Linked DNA regions of Homo sapiens: region 1 is linked to region 2. The links are contacts of gene promoters, found by promoter capture Hi-C in blood cells and fetal thymus (Javierre and others, 2016). All regions are on one chromosome and are shown on one strand. Each heading gives the region's core, a stretch centred on a gene start or on the middle of the fragment in contact. The rest is flanking DNA. Distances are from core to core; before and after follow the strand shown. Region 1 holds the start of LDHC (lactate dehydrogenase C). Region 2 holds the start of LDHAL6A (lactate dehydrogenase A like 6A).

Region 1 (6,071 bases), core at 1,046-3,545, 44 kb before region 2:
CTCCATCTCTACTAAAAATACAAAAAATTAGCTGGGCATGGTGGCGGGCGCCTGTAGTCCCAGCTACTCGGGAGGCTGAGGCAGGAGAATGGCGTGAACCCGGGAGGCGGAGCTTGCAGTGAGCCGAGATCGGACCACTGTACTACAGCCTGGGCGAGACTGCGAGACTCTGTCTCAAAAAAAATTATTTTATTTTATTTTGTTTTTATTTTTGGGGGTAGAGATGGGGGTCTCCCTATGTTGCCAGACTGGTCTTGAACTCCTGGGCTGAAGCCTCGGCCTCCCAAAGTGCTGGGATTGCAGGAGTGAGCCACCATGTCTGGCCCAAAAATTCTTTAGTGAGTACCTACTATGCTTTGGTAAATGTTGCAATGTACAAGAATAAATAAAGACAAATTTTGGTTCTAAAGTTACTGCAATCAAGTAAGCAAAATGTTAAGTAAGTTTGGAGTATTTGGGCAGGCATGGATGAAGAGCCAGTTCTAGTCATCTAGCATCAGTTTGGCCACTACCAAGCTGATACCTTCCTTGGCCGCCAGGGGCCTGAGGCAGGTGTAGAGCTTAAATTTCCAGTCCATCCAGGCCAGCAATCTCCCTCTCAGCCCGGGGATAAATGAGGTTGCTGTGGAGGTATAGGACCAAGTGGTTGCTGCTCCTGTCTGCTATAGGAGGCCTCTAGCTTCAGGCTAGTTGCTGGTTGAGAAAAGTGCCATAAGAGAGAGATATACAGGAAATGATGGTAGTTGACATTTGTCAAGGAAAGCCAGAGTATGTATGTGCAAAGCTGAAAATGAGGAATTAACCTTGAGAAGGGCTGGGGAAAGAGCTTTCTTGGTTTAAAGAACAGCAAAAAGTCCTGATCCAAAAAAGCTGTCCAAAGCCTAGTTGGAAGGAAGTGTATTGAGTGTCCTGAGATGATATGGGAAGTGGGGGTAGGAGGCCAAATCTTGAAGATCTAGGTTGTGGTAAAAGTGGGTTACTCTACCTGTAATGGAAAGCCACGGAAGAGTTTAAAGCAGGGTTATTGCATAATCTGAACCATATTGAAAACAAATACTGACTGGGTGCGGTGGTTCACGCCTGTAATCCCAGCACTTTGGGAGGCCGAGGTGGGTGGATCACTTGAGGTCAAGAGTTCGAGACCAGCCTGGCCAGCAAGGTGAAATACAAAAAAATACAAAAAAATTTGCCCGGCGGCTGGGCACGGTGGCTCAGCACGGTGGCTCACGCCTGTAATCCCAACACTTTGGGAGGGCGGATCACTAGGTCAGGAGTTGGAGACCATTCTGACCAACATGGTGAAACCCCATCTCTACTAAAAATACAAAAATTAGCCGGGCGTGGTGGCGCACGCCTGTAGTCCCAGTTACTTGGGAGGCTGAGGCAGGAGAATTGCTTGAACCCAGGCGGCGGAGGTTGCAGTGAACTGAGATTGTGCCACTGCACTCCAGCCTGGGCGACAGAGTGAGACTCTGTCTCAAAAACAACAACAATAACAACACTACAGGCTATTATAAGAAAAATAAATTATATTTTGGATTTTGAAAAAGGTTCAAATGCAAATACTCTACAAAAGATGGAGTAGGTTGTGTCCCCTTCTGTGAGATATATATCTCTCTCACAAAAAAAAAAATATATATGTAAATTTTTTTTGAGATGGAGTTTCTCTCTTGTTGCCCAGTCTGGAGTGCAGTGGCGCGATCTTGGCTCACTGCAACCTCCGCCTCCTGGGTTCAAGCGATTCTCCTGCCTCAGCCTCCCAAGTAGCTGGGACTACAGGCATGCACCACCATGCCCGACTAATTTTATATTTTTAGTAGAGACGGGGTTTCGCCATGTTGGCCAGGCTGTTCTCAAACTCCTGACCTCAGGTGATCCACCTGCCTCGGACTCCCAAAGTGCTGGGATTACAGGTGTGAGCCACCGCGTCCGGCCATGAGTTATAAATATTAACAATTTCTTGCTGTAAATTGAAAGCATCCTTCGCGTCTTTGCGTTTCATTACCACCCTCTGTTCTCTCAAGAGAAATTCTAACTTTATTTCAGCACTCAGTCCTGAAGTTACAGAAGTTAATAATTTTTTAAAATCCTGCAAACAATGCATGGATATCCCCGTCTTGCACACTCTTTGGGCCAGTCTAGAATTCTTCCCATCAGCATTTCGGTGATCTGGACCGCCGCCACCCACACTGCGCTCCAGGGCAGAAAAGACGCCCCATGCCCGCGCCTGGGCCGGCGGGGGGCGGAGCTTGCGTGCTGACGCATAAGAGCCGAGCGGGGGAACGTGCGTGTCTCGAGTCGCACGGAGGGCAACCGTCGACGGGCTTAGCGCCTCAACTGTCGTTGGTGTATTTTTCTGGTGTCACTTCTGTGCCTTCCTTCAAAGGTGGTGCTTTGTCCCTGTGGGTCATCTGTACTGATTGCGCCAAGCAAAGCATTTGTGAGCGTGTGGTGCTGGGGTGAAAGTGGTGGCTGGGGGCAGGGAGAAATCCAAAAGCCCGCTGGTGCCCCAGCCCTCCCATTGCCTGGTAGACTGGGCCTTGCTTTACCCTCCCCGCATCCTTTGACCAGGAAATTCTTTCTTTGGCTTCCCCCCATCCCCGGCTCCAACATTCTGCAAACTGAAGAGGTAGTTTCTTAGATGTTCAGTGTGGTTAATCCAATGAAATTGCATTATCCCTATCAGGTTCTCCAAATGTCAACTGTCAAGGAGCAGCTAATTGAGAAGCTAATTGAGGATGATGAAAACTCCCAGTGTAAAATTACTATTGTTGGAACTGGTGCCGTAGGCATGGCTTGTGCTATTAGTATCTTACTGAAGGTGAGTGAGAAGCCCATCCTGTGGCTGAAAATCAAGTGAGCACTTCAGAGTGTTGTATATGTCGATGTATTCAGGGTTGCAAGGTTAATCCCTTGAAAGCAATTATGTATCCTTTGACCTTTCCTCCCTCCCTCCCTCCCTCCCTTCCTTCCTTCCTTCCTTCCTTTTTCTTTCTCTCTTTCTTTTCCTTTTTTTTTAAACTTCTTCTTTCTTTTCCTTTCTTTTTTTTTCTGACTTTCCTTTTCTTTTTCTTTTTTTGAGACAGGATTTGTCTGTTACCCAGGTTGGAGTGCAGTGGCGCGATCTTGGCCCACTGCAACCTCCACCTCCCGGGATCAAGCGATTCTCCTGCCTCAGCCTCTTGAATAACTGGGGCCACAGGCATGCACCACCAGGCCTGGCTAATTTTTTATATTTTTAGTAGAGATGGGGTTTCTCCATGTTGGCCAGGCTGGTTTCGAACTCCTGACCTCAAGTGATCCGCCTGCCTCGGCCTCCCAGAGTACTGGGATTACAGGCATGAGCCACCACACCTGGCTGCCAATAGGTATTGTTTTTAACCCTTGTGCCCTCCTCCCTCTCTGCTTTTGGAGTCCCCAGTGTTTATTGTTCTCTCTTTTTTTTTTTTTTTTTTTTTTGAGACGGAGTCTCGCTCTGTTGCCAGGCTGGAGTGCAGCGGCAGGATCTCGGCTCCCGGCAACCTTTGCCTCCCGGGTTCAAGCAGTTCTCCTGCCTCAGCCTCCTGAGTAGCTGGGACTACAGGCATGTGCCACCACGCCCAGCTAATTTTTATATTTTTAGTAGAGACGGGGTTTCATCATGTTGGCCAGGATGGCCTTGATTTCTTGACCTCGTGATCCGCCTGCCTCAGCCTCCCAAAGTGCTGGGATTACAGGCATGAGCCACCACGCCTGGCCTTAAGTAGGGACTTTTACTTCTTTCCCTTACTGTTCGCTTTTGGAATCTGGCTATTGAAATCTGAATGAATACACTCCTTGTATATAGTTCCGTACTCTGTCACATGTGACAAAAACCCAGTTTAAATTAGGGTAAGCAGAAAAAGACGAAATATTGTTCATGTAACTGGAAATAGGGCAAAACTGCTTCAGGTACTACCGGATTCTGAAGTTCACACATATCAAGACATAGTCTTTGTATATCTTGGTTTAGATTTTCTCTGTTGGCTTAATTCGTAGAGCCTTTCTATGTGGTGGTAAAGATGGCTGTACAGTTTGTTCTTAGATTCTTGTTTTTTCTCCAACTCTACAGTCCTTACTAATGTTCTTAGATTTGCATGTTATTCTTAGAGCTTATGATTCCAAAGAAAAGTGAGATGTAATCTTCCGTCTTCCATTTTCAAACTTCATAGACATGCTTGTTTCTTATACCTGGGCCATATGTCCACTTATGAACTGATTTCTGTGACCAGAAGGAAAGGATGGAACAATTGGCTAGGTCTGGTTTTATGCCCATCTACCCTAAGCTTGGAAAACCAATGTTAATTGTACTGCACTGAAACATATGGAATGGGTTCCCATGGAAAAGAGAAATTCTATTACCAGAAAAAGGGACACTAGACAGATGAAAACAATAAGTGTTCATCAGAGGTGGTTACCTTCCTGTTTGGGCCATAACGACGCATACTAAAAGCAGCTTTAGCCAACTCAGAAATTAGGGTTAAGGTTAAATATAATAAAATCCTGGCCGGGCGCAGTGGCTCAGGCCTGTAATCCCAGGACTTTGCGAGGCTGAGGTGGGTAGATCACTTGAGGTTAGGAGTTTGAGACCAGCCTGACCAATATGGTGAAACCCCGTCTGTACTAAAAATACAAAAATTAGCCGGACATGGTGGCGGGCGCCTGTAATCCCAGCTACTCGGGAGGCTGAAGCACGAAAATTGCTTGAACCTGGGAGACGGAGGTTGCAGTGCCCGAGATTGTGCCACTGCACTCCAGCCTGGGCGACAGAGTGAGACTTCATCTCAAACAAAACAAAACAAAAAACACAAAAATAAAGGCTAAATATAATAAAAGCCTTTGAAATCATTTTATTTTCCTTGGTTTCAAACTGTTATCTGAATGGCAAAAAAAAACAAAAACAAAAAACACCCAGCTCTAAAAAGTTCTAACAATTATATGAAGTCAAACAATTTTTGCTACATCTTAATATTTACTTACCTTGACTTTCGGTCACCCAGGCTCATTGAAAAACTATTTTTATATCATTTTTCCCTATTAAAATATGAGATTCCTTTAATTATCAAGTAGCCACATGAAAATTCTTCTTATTCTCCTAAAACTTAAGTAGGAACATTTTATTCAGAACTTTTGTATATTTTAGGATTTGGCTGATGAACTTGCCCTTGTTGATGTTGCATTGGACAAACTGAAGGGAGAAATGATGGATCTTCAGCATGGCAGTCTTTTCTTTAGTACTTCAAAGATTACTTCTGGAAAAGGTTAATTTTAGTTTTATAAAGTTATTTTCAAAGCTTTTTAAAAAAGTAATAAATTTTACCAAACAGATGTCAATAAATATAAAATTAAAAATAGCACCATGCCATTGGGCCATATAATTTAATTTAGTTGATCAATTTTTTTTGTTTTTTGAGAGAGTCTCACTCTGTCACCCAGATTAGAGTGCAGTGGCGCGATCTTGGCTCACTGCAACCTCCACCTCCCAGCTTCAAGTGATTCTCCTGCCTCGGTCTCCTGTGTAGCTGGGATTACAGGCATGCGCCACCACGCCTGGCTAATTTTTGTATTTTTAATAGAGACGTAGTTTTGCCATGTTGGCCAGGCTGGTCTCGAACTCCTGACCTCAGGTGATTGGGCCATATAGTTTATTTTTATTTATTTATTTATTTTGAGATGGAGTCTCGCTCTGTTGCCCAGGCTGGAGTGCAGTGGCACAATCTCAGCTCACTGCAACCTCCGCCACCTGGGTTCAAGCAATTTTCTTGCCTCAGTCTCCTGAATAGCTGGGATTACAGGCATGCGCTACCACACCCCGCTGATTTTTGTATTTTTAGTAGAGATGGGGTTTCACTATATGTTGGCCAGGCTGGTCTCGAACTCCTGACTTCAGGTGATCCACTTGCCTCGGCCTTCCAAAGTGCTGGAATTACAGGTGTGAGCTGCGGTGCCCAGCCGGGCCATATAATTTAAAAAGTTAATTTTTTTAAAAAGAACACTTCGATATAATTGGAGCATATTTGGAAAACAGAAAGTATAAAGAAAAATTGAATCTC
Region 2 (6,283 bases), core at 821-3,320:
AGCTGGGACTACAGGTGCCTGCTACCACGCCCGGCTAATTCCTTTCCTTTTTTTTTTTTTTTTTTTGAGACGGAGTCTCGCTCTGTGGCCCAGGCTGGAGTGCAGTGGCACGATCTCGGCTCACTGCAAGCTCCGCCTCCCCGGTTCGCGCCATTCTCCTGCCTCAGCCTCCCGAGTAGCTGACGCCTGGCTAATTTCTTTTATATTAGTAGAGACGGGCTTTCACCGTTTTGCCCAGGCTGGTCTCGAACTCCTAAGATCAGGCAATCCGCCCGCCTCGGCCTCCCAAAGTGCTAGGGTTACAGCCGTGAGCCACCGCGCCCGGCCAACTCCTTAATATTTAATTTCATGATGGGGGTGCAAAACAATTAGGGGGAACATATCTACAAAGACTCTTGAGGGAGTGATAATGAAAAAAGATTGAGAAACACTGCTCTACATTTTATAAAAATTTGTCAATATGTATTACTGTATTAGGGTTCTCTAGAGGGACAGAACGAATAGGATAGCTATATATATAAAGGGGAGTTTATTGAGGAGTATTGACTCACACAATCACAAGGTGAGGTCCCACAACAATAGGCCGTCTGCAAGCTGAGAAGCAAGAAAGTCAGTCGGAGTTCCAAAGCTGAAGAACTAGGAGTCCAATGTTTGAGGGCAGGAAGCATCCAGCACAGGAGAAAGATGAAGGCTGGAAGACTTAGCCAGTCTAGTCCCTCCACGTTCCTCTGCCTGCTTTTATCCTAGACGTGCTGGCAGCTGACTAGATGGTGCTCACCCGGATAGAGGGTGGGTTTGCGTCTTCTAGCCTACTGACTCAAATGTTAATTTCCTGTGGCAACACCCTCACAGACACACCCAGGTTCAACACTTTGCATCCTTCAATCCAATCAAGTTGACACTCAGTATTAACCATCAAAATTACGTATTATGATTCACAAATGAGAAAACAATTAGGTAAAATGTGGTGGGAGAAGTAGAAACCTTGGTTTATTCCAGACTGATTTTCAATTCTACATTTTTGTTTTTTATTTTTGAGACGGAGTCTCACTCTGTCACCCAGGCTGGAGGGCAGTGGCATGATCTCGGCTCACCAAAACCTCCGCCTCCCGGGTTCAAACGATTCTCCTGCCCCAGCCTCCTGAGTAGCTGGGATTACAGGTGCGTGCCACCACACCCGGCTAATTTTTGTATTTTTAGTAGAGACGGGGTTTCGCCATGTTGGCCAGGCTGGTCTCGAACTCCTGACCTCAGCTAATCCACCCGCCTCGGCCTCCCAAAGTGTGGATTCTACATTTAACCACTTAATAATGAATTGAGCTTTCCCTTCATCTTGTAAAAATGGTTATCAATTGGCACTGCATTCATCAAATTCTTCAGGTTTCATATCTTATTTCCAAATTCCTTTTGCATACAGAGTTTTGTTGTTGTTTTGAGACAGGGTCTCACTCCGTCACCCAGGCTGGAGTGCAGTGGCACAATTTCGGCTTACTGCAACCTCCGCCTCCCAGGTTCACAAACAATTCTTGTGCTTCAGCCTCCCAGGTAGCTGGGATTACAGGGGTGCACCACCACGTCCAGCTAATTTTTGTATTTTTAGTAGAAACGTGGTTTCACGATGTTGGCCAGGCTGATTTCGAACCCCTGACCTCAGGTGATCCGCCCGCCTTGGCCTTCCAGAGTGCTGGGATTACAGGCGTGAGCCACCACGCTCGGCCCAGAGTTTTAAAATTTTACTTTTTCTACTTTAGCTCACATTTGAGGTGGTAAAAGTTAATCTTGAGGTCCCTTTCTCCTACAGGGCTGGGGGAAAATTTTCACGTGAGAGTCAAACAGTCCTTTTCAGATACATCCAGACAAGGTTTGGTTAGAAATAAAATTACTTGGGCTCTCTGGTGGATGGGTTCTAGGCAAACAACTCCGCCCAACAGCAGAGGCCCTGCACTGCGTTGTGCCTGCAGCACCTCGTGCGCCTTCTGCAGCCGGCCAACCACCTACACCGCAGCCCGCCCACCCGCACGCGGGGGCGGGGCGGGCAGGCAGAGGCGCAGGCGCGGTGCTTCGCAGCCCGCTTCCGGCCTCACACCTGCCAAGCATCACACCTGCCAAGCATCACACCTGCCAAGCATCACACCTGCCAAGCATCACACCTGCGATGCCTGCACGAGCTGGGTGCGGTCCGCGCAGCTGCAGTAAGGGGGCGACCCGGCGTCTGTTAGTCGGCGGTTCATCTCCTTCGTGCCTCGATGAGCTTTAACGCCATTTTCCTCCATTCTCTTTCTTCACCTCTTGAGTGAGTGGCCATGAGCTGGGCTGCAAGAGTCCTGGGGAGCAGCCAGAGAGCGGGCGCCGCGGGAGCGAATTGTTTTTGCCCAAGGATGGTTCTGTGTCTCCGCCAGGCGGCATGTGACCTGCTCGGGCGCGGGTGGCCCTTCACCCCTGTGAGTGTGGCCAGAAGTACCTCTCACCTGGACCTGCGGACCCCGGGCGCAGTCCTGGAGCTGAGAACTGGAGGTTGGGGGAACAGCAGGGTAAAGGGGAGAGAAAAGGGGGTCAGCTGCGGGACGGAGTGCCGTCCCAGCTGTAGTTTCATGTTTGGTGGAGCAACCCCTGTTCCTTTCCTCTCTCTCTCTCTTAATTCCTCTTAACTGTACTCACGCTTCCTTCTCCTTCCCCTGGTCCGCTTCATGGATGCTGAGCTGCCTGGCCAGAACCTACCCAGCTTCTTTGCTGGTCAGATTTGTCGGTCTTTTGTGTGTCTGCAGCACCTCCTTCCACACGGGCCCAGGAGTTCTCTATACGCGCTCTCACCGCAGGTCTTGGAATTCCAAGCCATTTCCAATTCCAGGTCTTGGAAATGGCTGTGCAATTTGTCTTCACTGTTAGGTTTCCAAGATGGCAACTATCAAGAGTGAACTTATTAAGAATTTCGCGGAAGAGGAGGCCATTCATCACAATAAGATCTCCATTGTAGGAACTGGATCGGTTGGTGTGGCTTGTGCTATCAGCATCTTATTAAAAGTAAGTTGTGTGCTCTGCACCACAGGGTTCACCTCAGTTGGAGGCGAGGCCACAGCGTATGGTTGTGGAGGTTGTGTCCAGTTCAAGGTGGTGAGTGGGGAGCCAGTGTGAGGGGCATCAGAGGAAAAGGTGCCCTTTTTTTAGTTGTTCACCCAGAGGGCGCTCCTTTTTAAAAATTGTATGATGATATCATGTGGGTTAGAAGCATCTCTGTGAAAGTATGTTGACATTTCACTTTCACGTAATGACAATATGAGGTACCCCTTTGCTTGATTTGGAAACTCAGCTCACAAAACAAACTGGAGAGAAATAGGTGGCAGAAAAGAGTATACAAGCGTGTCAGTGATGGTAGGCAGCCTACGAGTACCAAATACAATAATCTTTTTTCATTTAAATATCTCTCTCCCATTTCCTAGTCTGTATATCTTTATTTCCCTTCGTTCCTTATTCATGTTAGGTTAGTTTTAGTGTTTAGCTGTTCTTAGTATTGATACAGCTGATAAAGTTTTATGGCTATAGACAGAGGCCAAAAAAAGATTCTGACCCCTTTCTAAGAATATTACCCTGATATGAACTTTATTACCATAAAGTTTTAATAAATCATAAGACACTCTGAGCTATACTTTTATTAATGAAATATCTGTAAAATGTTTTAGCCATCTTTTATATAACCTTTAATCCTGGCATGAGTCATTGGATTTAAAGGATTGCCTCTGGGTTTCATATCTAGATGACATAGTGACCTTATGGCACTAAGGACAGCAGCCACAGCCAACTGCTGCTCCTGCCAGCCATACAAATTCCCCATGATTCATTTTGTCCTACCTATTGTAATGCCTTTATCAGCAGTGTCCTCACTGCTAATGAAGAATACACACACGTGAAAACCAACACATCTGTGACTCATTGATTGTTTGATGGGGCCTCCACGTATTGCCCAGGCTGCTCTCAAACTCCTGGCCTCAAGCAGGAGGTCTCGGCTTCCTAAAGTGCTGAGATAACAGATGTGAGCCACCTTGCTTTGCCCAACACATTTTTTTTAACATCAGTAATAATGATAACAGTATGTTTGTATGCATTATCCAATATTACAACCCTGGAAAGTAAATATTAGACCTACTTTTTAGAGGAGAAAAAAGGAATAGACTATCTCTAATTGCATGAATAGATAAGTATACAGGTAATATATATAGAAAAGCTTGAAATAAAAGATTTATTTATCACCTCTGCTTTGAAGGGCCATTCAGGGAGGGACTGAGCCATATCCCTGGAACTCCTACCTCTGCCAGCTGCTGCTTGGCTTTGGTTGCAGGAGTGGAGGGAATTTTGGGGCTTCTGATGGGAGGTTCCAGGGCCCAGGATAGGGCAGTGCCATGGGGCTGCACTTGTTTCATGGCCCTATCCATGATGGGAGGTCCTAGATAGATCTCAGGTGGAGGTGGTGGATAGGAGTACAGAAGGGCAGGAGTGCATTCCATTGCAACTGGTGATGGGAGGCACAGGCCCCACCGGGCATGTAAGAGCATCTGTAGGCTCCACTGGTGGCTTACCTCTGGAGGCTTAAAATGCCACCTGTAGCACCCATTGTTCAAACTCAGTGGTGCTCCCTGCTGTAAAGGTATGAAGCAGAGCCTTCCCAGTCACCTCCTGCTTCTAGAACTTGAATTCTAGTATGTTGCTAACTATGGCATTTGTATATCTTAGGAAATAGGGTACACAATCCCCCTATAAAGCCTCAGGTTAAGGCTCACTTTAATCTTTCCCTGTCCTGGCCCTAGACACTGCAACTTCTGTCATTCAAGGAGGTGGTGATAGCCTAAAAACTCCTTGCTGATAAGGAATTCTCAATATGAATTGTTCAGGAATTTATTGTCAGGAATTTGTGGTATGAACCTTGTAGAGAAACAGTAATGTCTTTAAAAATTACTGAGTTTTACCATAATACATAAACTTTAATTAGTATAATGCGAGATCCACTTTTTCTTTTAGTGTTGTATCTGGAATCTAGAAGAGTGCCTCCTGTAATTGATATTTAGTAGTTGGATGAAAGAATTGCTAAAAGATGCCCATTAAAATGGAATGCACTGGATTGTGAATATAAAGATGGGATATTCTGTTTACTTTCATTTTTATAAATAAGGAAAGGGAGTCCAGAGAGATTGTTAGGATATATTTTTATAGACTTTATTTTTTAGAATAGTTTTAGATTTACAGAAAAATTGAAAGGATAACAGTTTATACCCCACATTACACCTTAGTATGGTGTGGTGGTTAATATTGTCAACTTGATTGGATTGAAGGATGCAGGGTATTGTTCCTGGGTGTGTCTGTGAGGGTGTTGCCAAAGGAGATTAACATTTGAGTCCGAGGACTGAGAGGCAAACCCACCCTCAATCTGGGTGAGCACCATCTAATCAGCTGCCAGCACGTCTAGGATAAAAGCAGGCAGAGGAACGTGGAAGGACTAGACTGGCTAAGTCTTCCAGCCTTCATCTTTCTTTCGTGCTGGATGCTTCCTGCCCTCAAACATCAGACTCCAAGTTCTTCAGCTTTTGAACTCTGAGACCTACACCAGTGGTTTGCCAGGGACTCTCGGGCCTTTGGCTACAGACTGAAGGCTGCACTGTTGGCTTCCCTACTTTTGAGGTTTTGGGACTTGGACTGGCTTCCTTGCTCCTCGGCTTGCAAATGGCCTGTTGTGGGACTTCACATTGTTATCATGTGGGTCAGTACTCCTTAGTAAACTCCCTTTCATATCGACATCTATCCTATTAGTCCTGTCCCTCTAGAGAACTCTAATACATATTGTATACCTTAGTGTGGTACATTTGTCACGATGAAAGAATGGATATTGACATATCACCTTTAACTAAAGTCCACACTTTACTCAGATTTCTTTAGTTTTTACCTGTCCTTTTTCTGTTCCATGATCCCATCCAGGATGATACCACATGACGTTTAGTCACTGTATCTCCTTGGGCTCCTCTAGGCTATGACAGTTTCTTTAGATTTTTCTTGTTTTTGATGACTGAGCATTCTGAGGAGTACTAGTCAAGTATTTTGTAGAACACCTTTCTCTTGGAATTTGGTGGGGTTTTTTTTGATGGTGAGACCGAGGTTTTGGGTTTTGGGGAGGAAGACATAGGAATAAAGTGCCACTTTTCATCACATCATATCCCGGCTACATACTGTCATGATTTATCAGTGTTGATGTTGACCTCAGTTACCTGGCTGCTTGTAATGCAGCTTAGACTTCTAGGTT

The links. The method cuts DNA at HindIII sites, captures the fragments that hold promoters and counts their contacts. A CHiCAGO score of 5 or more calls a contact.
Region 1: the fragment with the promoter of LDHC here is called in contact with the fragment with the promoter of LDHAL6A in region 2 in 8 of 17 cell types (total CD4 T cells, erythroblasts, naive CD8 T cells and 5 more); the score reaches 7.0 in total CD4 T cells.

The regions. Positions count from the first base shown.
Region 1 is chr11:18,410,023-18,416,093 of GRCh38, forward strand. It overlaps LDHC (lactate dehydrogenase C), which reads left to right and starts at 2,296. Exons shown (of 8, transcript NM_017448.5): 1 at 2,296-2,386; 2 at 2,687-2,821; 3 at 5,162-5,279. The coding sequence starts at 2,696. The HindIII fragment of the contact is 7,298 bases long and covers 1-4,302 here.
Region 2 is chr11:18,453,786-18,460,068 of GRCh38, forward strand. LDHAL6A (lactate dehydrogenase A like 6A) reads left to right here and starts at 2,071. Exons shown (of 7, transcript NM_144972.5): 1 at 2,071-3,021. The coding sequence starts at 2,896. The HindIII fragment of the contact is 8,824 bases long and covers 1-4,217 here.